Linked DNA regions of Homo sapiens: region 2 is linked to region 1. Evidence: promoter capture Hi-C in human tissues and cell types (Jung and others, 2019). All regions are on one chromosome and are shown on one strand. Each heading gives the region's core, a stretch centred on a gene start or on the middle of the fragment in contact. The rest is flanking DNA. Distances are from core to core; before and after follow the strand shown. Region 1 holds the start of PI4KA (phosphatidylinositol 4-kinase alpha). Region 2 overlaps MED15 (mediator complex subunit 15).

Region 1 (4,082 bases), core at 685-3,184:
GGTGCTACCACTGCTGGAGCTGCAGGACCAGCTTCTTAAAGATCATCCAATTCACTGCATTCTCTTCTCTCTCCTCCCAGAATCCAGCAATCAGTCATAAGATATATTTGTTGGCTCTCCTGCTAAGAAGCGAATGTGCTGACTAGCTAGCATGAGTTTGATTCAATAAAACAGCACTACACTCCATTAGTCAGACTATCTAATGATAACAGTGCTCATACATTAGGTACCCACGTGCCTTTTTGTTGCTCTTCACAATACTCCTATGAAGTACTACCTTGTATTTGACAGAAGATAGCAAAGTATCAGAGAAGGGAACTGACCTGTCTAGAGTCACACTAGTGAAAGCAAGTGATACAGGATTTAAATTCAGAGGTTCCATTTTCCAAACTCATGTCCTTTCCATTGCATTGTACTCCCTCTTTAGCTAGAAGTCAGGTTAGCACCAATCTGCCGGGACCTTCTCACCCCGAAGGTGCATGATAAAATCAAATATGAGAACCGACAAGGCCAAGGACCAGGTCACTCTGCCAAAAGTGCCTAAAACAGCCTTTCAGCTTCATCCATCAGCAGACAGCCACAAAACCACTCCCAACTGCAGCAGGCTGGTCTCCGGTCACCACTGTCTTATCTTGTCGGAAAACATCCTCTCTCCATGTGCCAAAAAGTTGAGTGGGAAAATAATTCCATCCTTTCAGAGCTAAACACTGTGCTGAGTCTCATCGCACACGGGTGGGCAAAGAAAGTTGACATTTACTGCTCACCCACTCTGTGCCTTGACCTGTGCAAGATGCTTTATGCTAGAACTCATTTAATTCTCAAGAACAACCTCATTTTACAGATAAGGATACAGAGGCTCTAAGAGTTAAATTTACCCAAGAGGACATGGTAAGTAAGTGCCAGTGCAGGGAACAAATTCAGGTCCCACTCTAAAATCTGTCTCTTTCCAGATCTCAAGGCACACCACTGAGTTGCCTTTCACCTTTCTCCCAAGATGAGGATTGCTCTGGCATGACTTCACCTTTCTCTTCTGAAGCAATTCCAAGTTCACTTCTCTGCCCACTGACAGTTCACTCTCCTTTCCCTGCCACTGTCCCTTCTGCAAACGCACAATCTTTTACCCAACCTAACGCCCCCAGCCTCGTAGAATAACACTGCGCAGTTGGTTTACAGTCACAAAGCACTTTCAAGACAGTGTTTCGTCTCCTGGTCACCACAGTCCGGTGAAGCCGGCAAAGCAGATAAAAGCATCCCCATTTTACAAGAAAGCCATCTTCCCAAGGTCGCGGAATAAAAAGCAGGTGAAATCGGAAGCAGAACCCCAGGTCTTGACCCCTGGTCCTCGGCTCATCCCACTGCTCCGCACAGCCGCCCACGATCCAGCCTCCACCTCCGCGATGTCACAAGATGCTCCCTGGGCCAGCAGCTCACATCCCCCACCCCCATCCCACAACCACCCACCTGCAGCGGCCCTGCAGGCCCCGCCGACCCTTCCCCCACGGTCCCTCTCTCTTCACCAGCCCCTCCCACTAGGGCCTCCTTCCCCCGCTAGATCCCTCCGCTCAGGCGCCCCCTCCCGCACAGGCTGCCGGCGAGCCCAGCCTCGGCCTCCCACAGACCCTCGTCCCGCCTCCACGCTTCGTCACCCCAGCCCCTCCTCCTGTCAGCCCGCGGCCCAGCCCGCCGACGTTACCTTCTCCAAGGATGCTGGTCTCTGCACCGCCAGGGAGCGGGCCAGTGACAGGACCGTGTTGAAATAGAAGCCCCGCGAGGCGCTGGAGCCGGAGCCGGAGCAGCCGCCGCCGCCTCCGCCTCCGCCTCCGCCTCCCCGGGCCGGGGCCGCCGCCATCACCTCACGAGCCGCGGCGCTGCCCGCCGGCTCCCCGCTCCTGGCCCGCGAGCGCCCGACCTCAGGGCGCAGGCGTAGGTGCATCCGGCTTTCCCGCCACGTGACCTCTCAGTTGCTGACACTAGATAGGGCGTGGCTGCGGGGCGGGCCCACCGCTGCAGGGGAGAGAGGGGATGGACAGTAGGCTGCGGTTGCGCGCGCCGGATGTGGGCCCCCCCCAGCCGACCTGCGCGATGGTCGGCTCCGAGGGCGGGGCCACCTGCGCGCGACGCGCGGAAGGAGTTCGCGCGACGACCGCGGGGTCGGCGGGCGGGGCGAGGCCCTGGACGGCGGCGGCAGTGGGGCTCCTCCTTCTGTTTCCCAGACCGAGAGCCGCGCCGGCACCATGTCAGCTTACCCTAAAAGCTACAATCCGTTCGACGACGACGGGGAGGACGAAGGCGCCCGGCCGGCCCCTTGGAGGGACGCCCGAGACCTCCCCGACGGGCCCGACGCGCCCGCGGACAGGCAGCAGTACTTGCGGCAGGAGGTCCTCCGCAGGGCTGAGGCCACGGCCGCCAGCACCAGCAGGTCCCTGGCCCTCATGTACGAGTCCGAGAAGGTTGGGGTCGCCTCTTCCGAGGTGAGCCTGGGGCAGGGCTGGTGTGGACTCGCCGGTCTCTGTGCTGTCAAACGGAGACGAGAAATGTTTTGCTCACAATCTTTTGAGAATTCTCAAGTTGCCTAGCATAGATTCTTGCACCTTAGTGACTCGATGGTGGTAACAATCTGTTAACTATGTAAAGGTATGTGCATCTGGAGTACTTGAAGAGGGCAGTTTACCCCAGAAATCTTCCTTAGCTATTAGTCTGCTTCGTTGATTTTTTTTTTCTTACGCCTAGCTCACGGGGAAACGCCAGATTATTTTCTGTCCAGGTGAGTAAAAATTCTGAACAGCAGGTCCTAGGTTTGGGAAATGGAGAGTCCGTTTCTTCGACATTATTTCCTGTGCAAAATCTGGCACAGGGTTTTGGCCATTCCTTCCGGAGTGAGCCAGAAAGAGAGGACTATGTGCCTGCGAGTGTCAGGTGATACCCTGAAGCATCAGGGCAGGTGGTCCACGAGTTCTTCCCGCATCATTGACATCTCCACCTAACCAACCAATAGAGGTATTGAAGTCCCTTCAGCCCAGACAGCTGCCTAGTTGACCAAAGCCTGGGTTTGATTGAGTCCAGGGTCTTACCTTTACTTCCCAAATCCTAGACAAATAGTGTGCGGGTTAAGAGTTTGTTGCTCCAACTCATCTTCATCAGTTCTTCCCATCCTTAGATTTCAGAGAGTAGTACCTTCAATAACAATTATTCTGGCCGAGCGCAGTGACTCACGCCTGTAATCCCAGCACTTTGGGAGGCCTAGGCGTCGGATCGCCTGAGCTCAGGAGTTCGAGACCCGCCTGGGCAACATGGTGAAACCCTGTCTCCACTAAAATTAAAAAAAAAAAAAAACTAGCCGGGTGTGGCGGTGCGCCTGTAGTCGCAGCTACTCAGGAGGCTGAGGTAGGAGAATCGCTTGTACCCGGGAGGCAGAGGTTGCAGTTAGCTGAGATCGTGCTGCTGCACTCCAGCATGGGCAACAGACCGAGATCCTGGAGGGTCTTTTTCTTTTTCTTTTTTTTTTTTTTTTGAGATGGAATCTCGCTCTGTCGCCCTTGCTTGGGTACAGTGGCATGATCTGGGCTCACTGCAACTTCCGCCTCCGGGATTCAGACGATTCTCCTGCCTCAGCCTCCCGAGTAGCTGGGACTACAGGTGCGCCGCCACACCCGGCTAATTTTTTTTGTATTTGTAGTGGAGACAGGGTTTTGCCCCGTTGGCCAGGCTGGTCTGGAACTCCTGACCTCAGGCAGTCCGCCCGCTTTGGCCTCCCAAAGGGCTGGGATTACAGGCGTGAGCCACCATACCGGTCGAGAATGATTCTTTATTGTACACCACAGTCTCTCTTCAGCCTGCTAATGAAACAGTTTTGTTTGGACAGAGAAAAAAAAAGGTTTAAAAAAATGTATAAGCCAGGCGCGGTTGTACTTCTGTAATCCCAACAATTTGTAAGGCTGAGGTAGGCAGATCATTTTAGCCCAGGAGTTTGAGACCAGCAGGGGTAACTGCGTCTCTACAAAATTTGAAAAATTAGCCAGGCATGGTGGCACACACATGTGAGTGCAGCTACTGAGGAGGCTGAGGCAGGAGGACCGCTTGAG
Region 2 (4,328 bases), core at 1,608-4,107, 330 kb before region 1:
GGAACGCACCTTCCTGCTTTAGACACCAGCAGAGGACAGAGAAGCTGGCTGTCCTGGGAATTCATGCCCTCATTCAGCAATGGGAAAGCAGTTGGACCAGGGAAGGGGGCCTGGCAGTGTGGCAGGGGGAGCAGTGGTAAAGAGGGTGGGGTCAGGGGAGAGGCCTCACTGAGAGGGGAGAGGGTCCTTGGTGGGAACCAGGGCGGTTGTGGAAGGAAGAGTCAGGGCGTGGAGCAGAGCAGAGCGGGAGTTGGGGTGGGGAGGCCAGTTCATGCCTCATCAACATGCCTGTGTGAGTGTCCTTCTTGCGGGCGGTGGAGCTGGCCTCAGGGTACACTGCAGGTGACTCAGAGCTCCAATGGGAGGGTGGCTCTGCCTGAGGGAGCTGCACATGCTCATTGGGCCATCGTCTGCTGAGGAGGGGGCAACAATAACCTCAACACATGGCGGAGGTGTTTTGGGATGCATCCTATTGCACATTTGGGCAGGTTGTTGCCTGACTTATTTCTTTAACGCATACCTAGCACTTCCTGTATGTCCAGTGCCTTATAATATTAACTACTATCATCCTCAGGGCTACCCGTGAGGTCGGCACTGTCCCCACCCTTTGTGCAAAGGAAGGATAGGGAGGCGCTGCCAGATGGGTTGAGGGCAGACCGGGGCAGCTTGCCTCAGGCCTCCCTGGCCTTAGCAGGCTTTAAGTTTGATGCCCTGTGCTCCTTCCCTAGGAAGCTCAGTTTGCCAGTTTTTTGCTTTATCTTAGTCTCATTCAGATTACAAGGACTGGGACTGGACTCCTGTTGCCAGTTTCTCAATTTGGAATAGGAAGGAGGTGAGGAACAACAGGCCCATGCTGGGCAGAAGCCCTGCAGACCAGGCCAACAGTGGGCCTCTCCTCACTGCCTGGCCCTGTCTGTGCACCTTCGTCCTGGCCACAGCCTCTCAGAGCCCCTCCTTTATGAAGAGGTTACGCTTTAGGGGAGGGAGTGCCTCTCCCAAGACCCAGAGCTGGTGAGTGGCTAGGTTGGAATTTGAGCCCAGGTCCCTCCTCCCCTGTCTGCTTCCTGCCAGGCCCAGCTGCCTGCCCCAGCACACGCCTTCTCCCAGGCACCCTGGCCTCCACTGCCAGGACGTGCCTGTTTGAGGCCTGGATTCCCCCATGGCTGCCACGCTGATTCTCCGTTCTGCACGTCGTGTCCCATCAAAATGCATGACAGTACCACTCCTTGTGTTAAAAAGAGCCAGTTATTGTGCCTGGCAGTGATGACTGCCCACTGCACACAAAAGTGGACGCCGTTGTCTCTGCTCTCAGGGTGTTCTTAGTATAGTGGGGCTGGCACACAGAAACCAGAGATTCCTCCAGGAAGTGCCACAGACATGGGTGAGGTGGCTACAGGGTTTCTGTGCAGCCGACAGCAGGGGTGCCTGGGTGGAAGCAGGGTGGGAGGCCCTAACAGGCCTGATGGGATAGTCAGGCAATGTGCCAGGTAGTAGGTCATCATCCCTGGGGCCCTGGGGAGAGTGTGTGGGGCAGGCGCAGGAGCAGGCTCCTCAGTGGGCTCCTGGACAGGCTGCCTGCTCTGCTGGTGAGGAGCGAGGCTCAAAGCAAGCAGGGGCCTGGGTTGCTTCCCACACTCAGTGGCAGTTGCTCACTGGCAGTCATGTGACCTGGGGAGCTGGCGAGGGCGTGGGGGTAGGAATGGGAACGGGAGACAGAGGCCCTTTGGGAGGAATTGCCACAGATGCAGTGGGAGTTGGGGCAAAGATTTGAACTTTGGAGAATTAAAGGTGGCAGTCAGAAAGTGAAGGGAGTTCCCAAGTTTCTGGGATGGGCACTTGGTGCTGGGAGATGAAGACACGAAGAGCTTTTCTTGATGTATCCCTGCTGGCTGCTCAGGCAGGGTCGGGCAATGCCATTAAGACACACTGTGTTCTGGGAACAGTTCTGGACAGTAAGGACATCCTCAGACCCCTTAGTGGGGGAGCTCCAAGGGCCTGTAATGATGAATCGGTCCCCTGGGAGGCTTCAGTCTAAGCTAGATACCAGTTGAACCCTGACTGAGTACACAGACATAGCTATGGCAACCAGCTAGACCATGGCCAAAGGCAGAGCATTGGAGCCCAGTTCACAGCAAGGGACTGTGTGCTCTGAGCCGGTAACAGTCCTTGTGTTCAGAGGTCTGGCTGGTCGCAACCAGGGAGTGGCCCCCAGCCCCCTTCCTCAGCTAGAGCGAGCACCACCCAGGCAGCCTTGGGTTCTTTGGTGGCCGCCTCATAGGCCTGTACTGTTTGTGAACCTGTTGCTTATGTTGGACAGGACTGTGGCAGGACAGCCATCAAGGGTCTTCCCTTGTGAGCTGACACCAGTCTGCTCTTTGTCCTCCTCTGGCTGGACAGGCCCTCGTCTTCCCGGCTTGCTTGTGTGGGGGAAGAGCTCACTGTGACATGTGGGTTCTCTGTTCTTTGTCTCAGGCTGTGCTCCTTACTCCATGTTGGGGGCTGTCTCCTTGTGTGATAGTTTCCTTTCATTTCGTGACAGTGGCTCGAAGGGTTTTGTTTTCAGGAGACAGAGACTGAGGAGTAGCCATTCGGGTCTGGCTGCTCAGGAAGGCATGCTGGGGATGGCAGCAGAGCCCAGCTCAGGGAGATCAGAAGGGGGCTTTGGGAGCAGCCAGTGCTGTTCTGAAGGTGGGCCTGGGTCCTGCCTGCAGCCTCCCGCAGCGGGTGTGTTAGGTCTAAGGGAGGAAGGAAGGGGACTTGACCTCAGCAGGAGTGTGAAATGGGTACCCTCCTGGAGTCAATGTCCAGGCAGGGGATGCCTCTGAAAAGCGCCAGGCCAGCTGGAGAGGAAAGGGCAGGCATCTGCAGGGAAGTGTGGGGGATTAGCTGCAGAGTTCCTGGGTTCTTTTTCGCTTTGTCTCTATTTTGTGACACTTGATCTTCAAACTAGAAACAGGAGCAAAGACATTTTCAAAAATACAGTTGTCAGAACTGCAAAACCACACAGGGTCTGTTACTGGCCACCAAACCTGCTGGGCCTCCCTGGGTGGATGCTGTGGGAGAGATGTGGGAGTGACATGGCACAGTGCTGCTGTTCTGAGCGGTAGCCTTGCTGGAGGAGCGCCTTGCCGGAGGAGCACCTTGCTCCTTGGCCCCACTCTGACCCTCCGAAGCTCATGTGGAACTGGACATTTACCCCAACTCGGTTTCCTGGTGTTGGCCTGTCAAGACTTGCCTGTTTCTGGCCTCCAGCTTGGTCCATGCTCCTCAGGCTCTGAGTAGCTGACGGTGCCCACAGTGTCCATGTCATCTGTGACATTACCCAGGACAGGACAGGGCCCGTCTGCCAGTACATCCCCTGGTGTATGGTGCCACCTTGCCTTCAGCTCACCAAGCATATTTCTTCAACCTGGTCATCCCACCACCTCAGAGCTATTGCACTAAGCTGTGTTTCTAGATCTTGTCTCTCTGACTGTGCCAGGTGTCTCTGCTGCACCAAGACAGTGTCTGTCTGGGGCCTGCCAGTCTGCTGACACTCTCAAAAACGGCCAGTAGCAGCTCAAAAGGACTGCTTTTGTATCAAAGCCTGGCTTTGCTCTCTGATCGCTGCTGGTGGGCACAGAGCCCATCTGTGTAACTGGTTGTCACTCCCCAGACTCTTCTGCACCCTTCTTCCTCTCTGACTCCTGGCCACATCTGCCACCCACAGCCTCCCCACTCCTTACACAGCCAGCCTCCAGGCCGTCCTGCTTGGCCTGCAAATGCTCCCCTGCTGTTTCTACTGCTCTTCCCTGAGTCTCCCTATTGGTCCCAGTGCTTTGGGAGGCCAAGGTGGAGGATCACTTAAGGCCAGGAGTTTGAGACCAGCCTGGGCAACAAAGCAAGACCCTGTCTCTACAAAAAAAGTAAAAAATAAAAAAATTAGCCAGGCGTGGTGGCGCATGCCTGTAGTCCCAGCTATTTGGGAGGCTGAGGTGAGAGGATACTTGAGCCCAGGAGTTTGAAGCTGCAGTGAGCTGTGTTTGCCCCACTGCGCTGCACCTGTGAGAGAGTGAGACATTGTCTCAAAAAACAAAAGAAGAAAAAGAAAAAAGGAAGGTGGGAAGAACAAGTATGCCTTTGAAGGGCATACCTGCCTTGAGGGGCACAGATGAGGCAACCTTCAGAAAACAGGCCTGTGCAGCCACTTCTATCAGAAATGCTCACTGACTTCTTGGGGCCTAGCAGCTATCGTCTCAGCCTCTGGGTGTGGAGACCCTGCCCCATGCTAACCTGAGAGCATGAGTACAGGGTCCTCCCAGCCCACCCATGCCTCGCTTCCCCAGGAC

What was found. Contacts are between HindIII fragments. The study calls those that stand out against the background at their distance.
Region 2: a fragment that was not itself captured here is called in contact with the fragment with the promoter of PI4KA in region 1 in 1 of the 25 tissues and cell types used here (spleen).

The regions. Positions count from the first base shown.
Region 1 is chr22:20,856,877-20,860,958 of GRCh38, forward strand. It overlaps PI4KA (phosphatidylinositol 4-kinase alpha), which reads right to left and starts at 1,935. Exons shown (of 55, transcript NM_058004.4): 1 at 1,694-1,935. The coding sequence starts at 1,849. It overlaps SNAP29 (synaptosome associated protein 29), which reads left to right and starts at 2,131. Exons shown (of 5, transcript NM_004782.4): 1 at 2,131-2,471. The coding sequence starts at 2,235. RefSeq lists silencers at 1,544-1,593, 1,614-2,373 and an enhancer at 2,053-2,862. The HindIII fragment of the contact is 12,507 bases long and covers 1-4,082 here.
Region 2 is chr22:20,530,455-20,534,782 of GRCh38, forward strand. The region is part of intron 1 of MED15 (mediator complex subunit 15); the gene reads left to right. Among named protein-coding and RNA genes, the nearest start is that of MED15, 25 kb to the left of the region's middle. RefSeq lists an enhancer at 1-693. The HindIII fragment of the contact is 8,855 bases long and covers 1-4,328 here.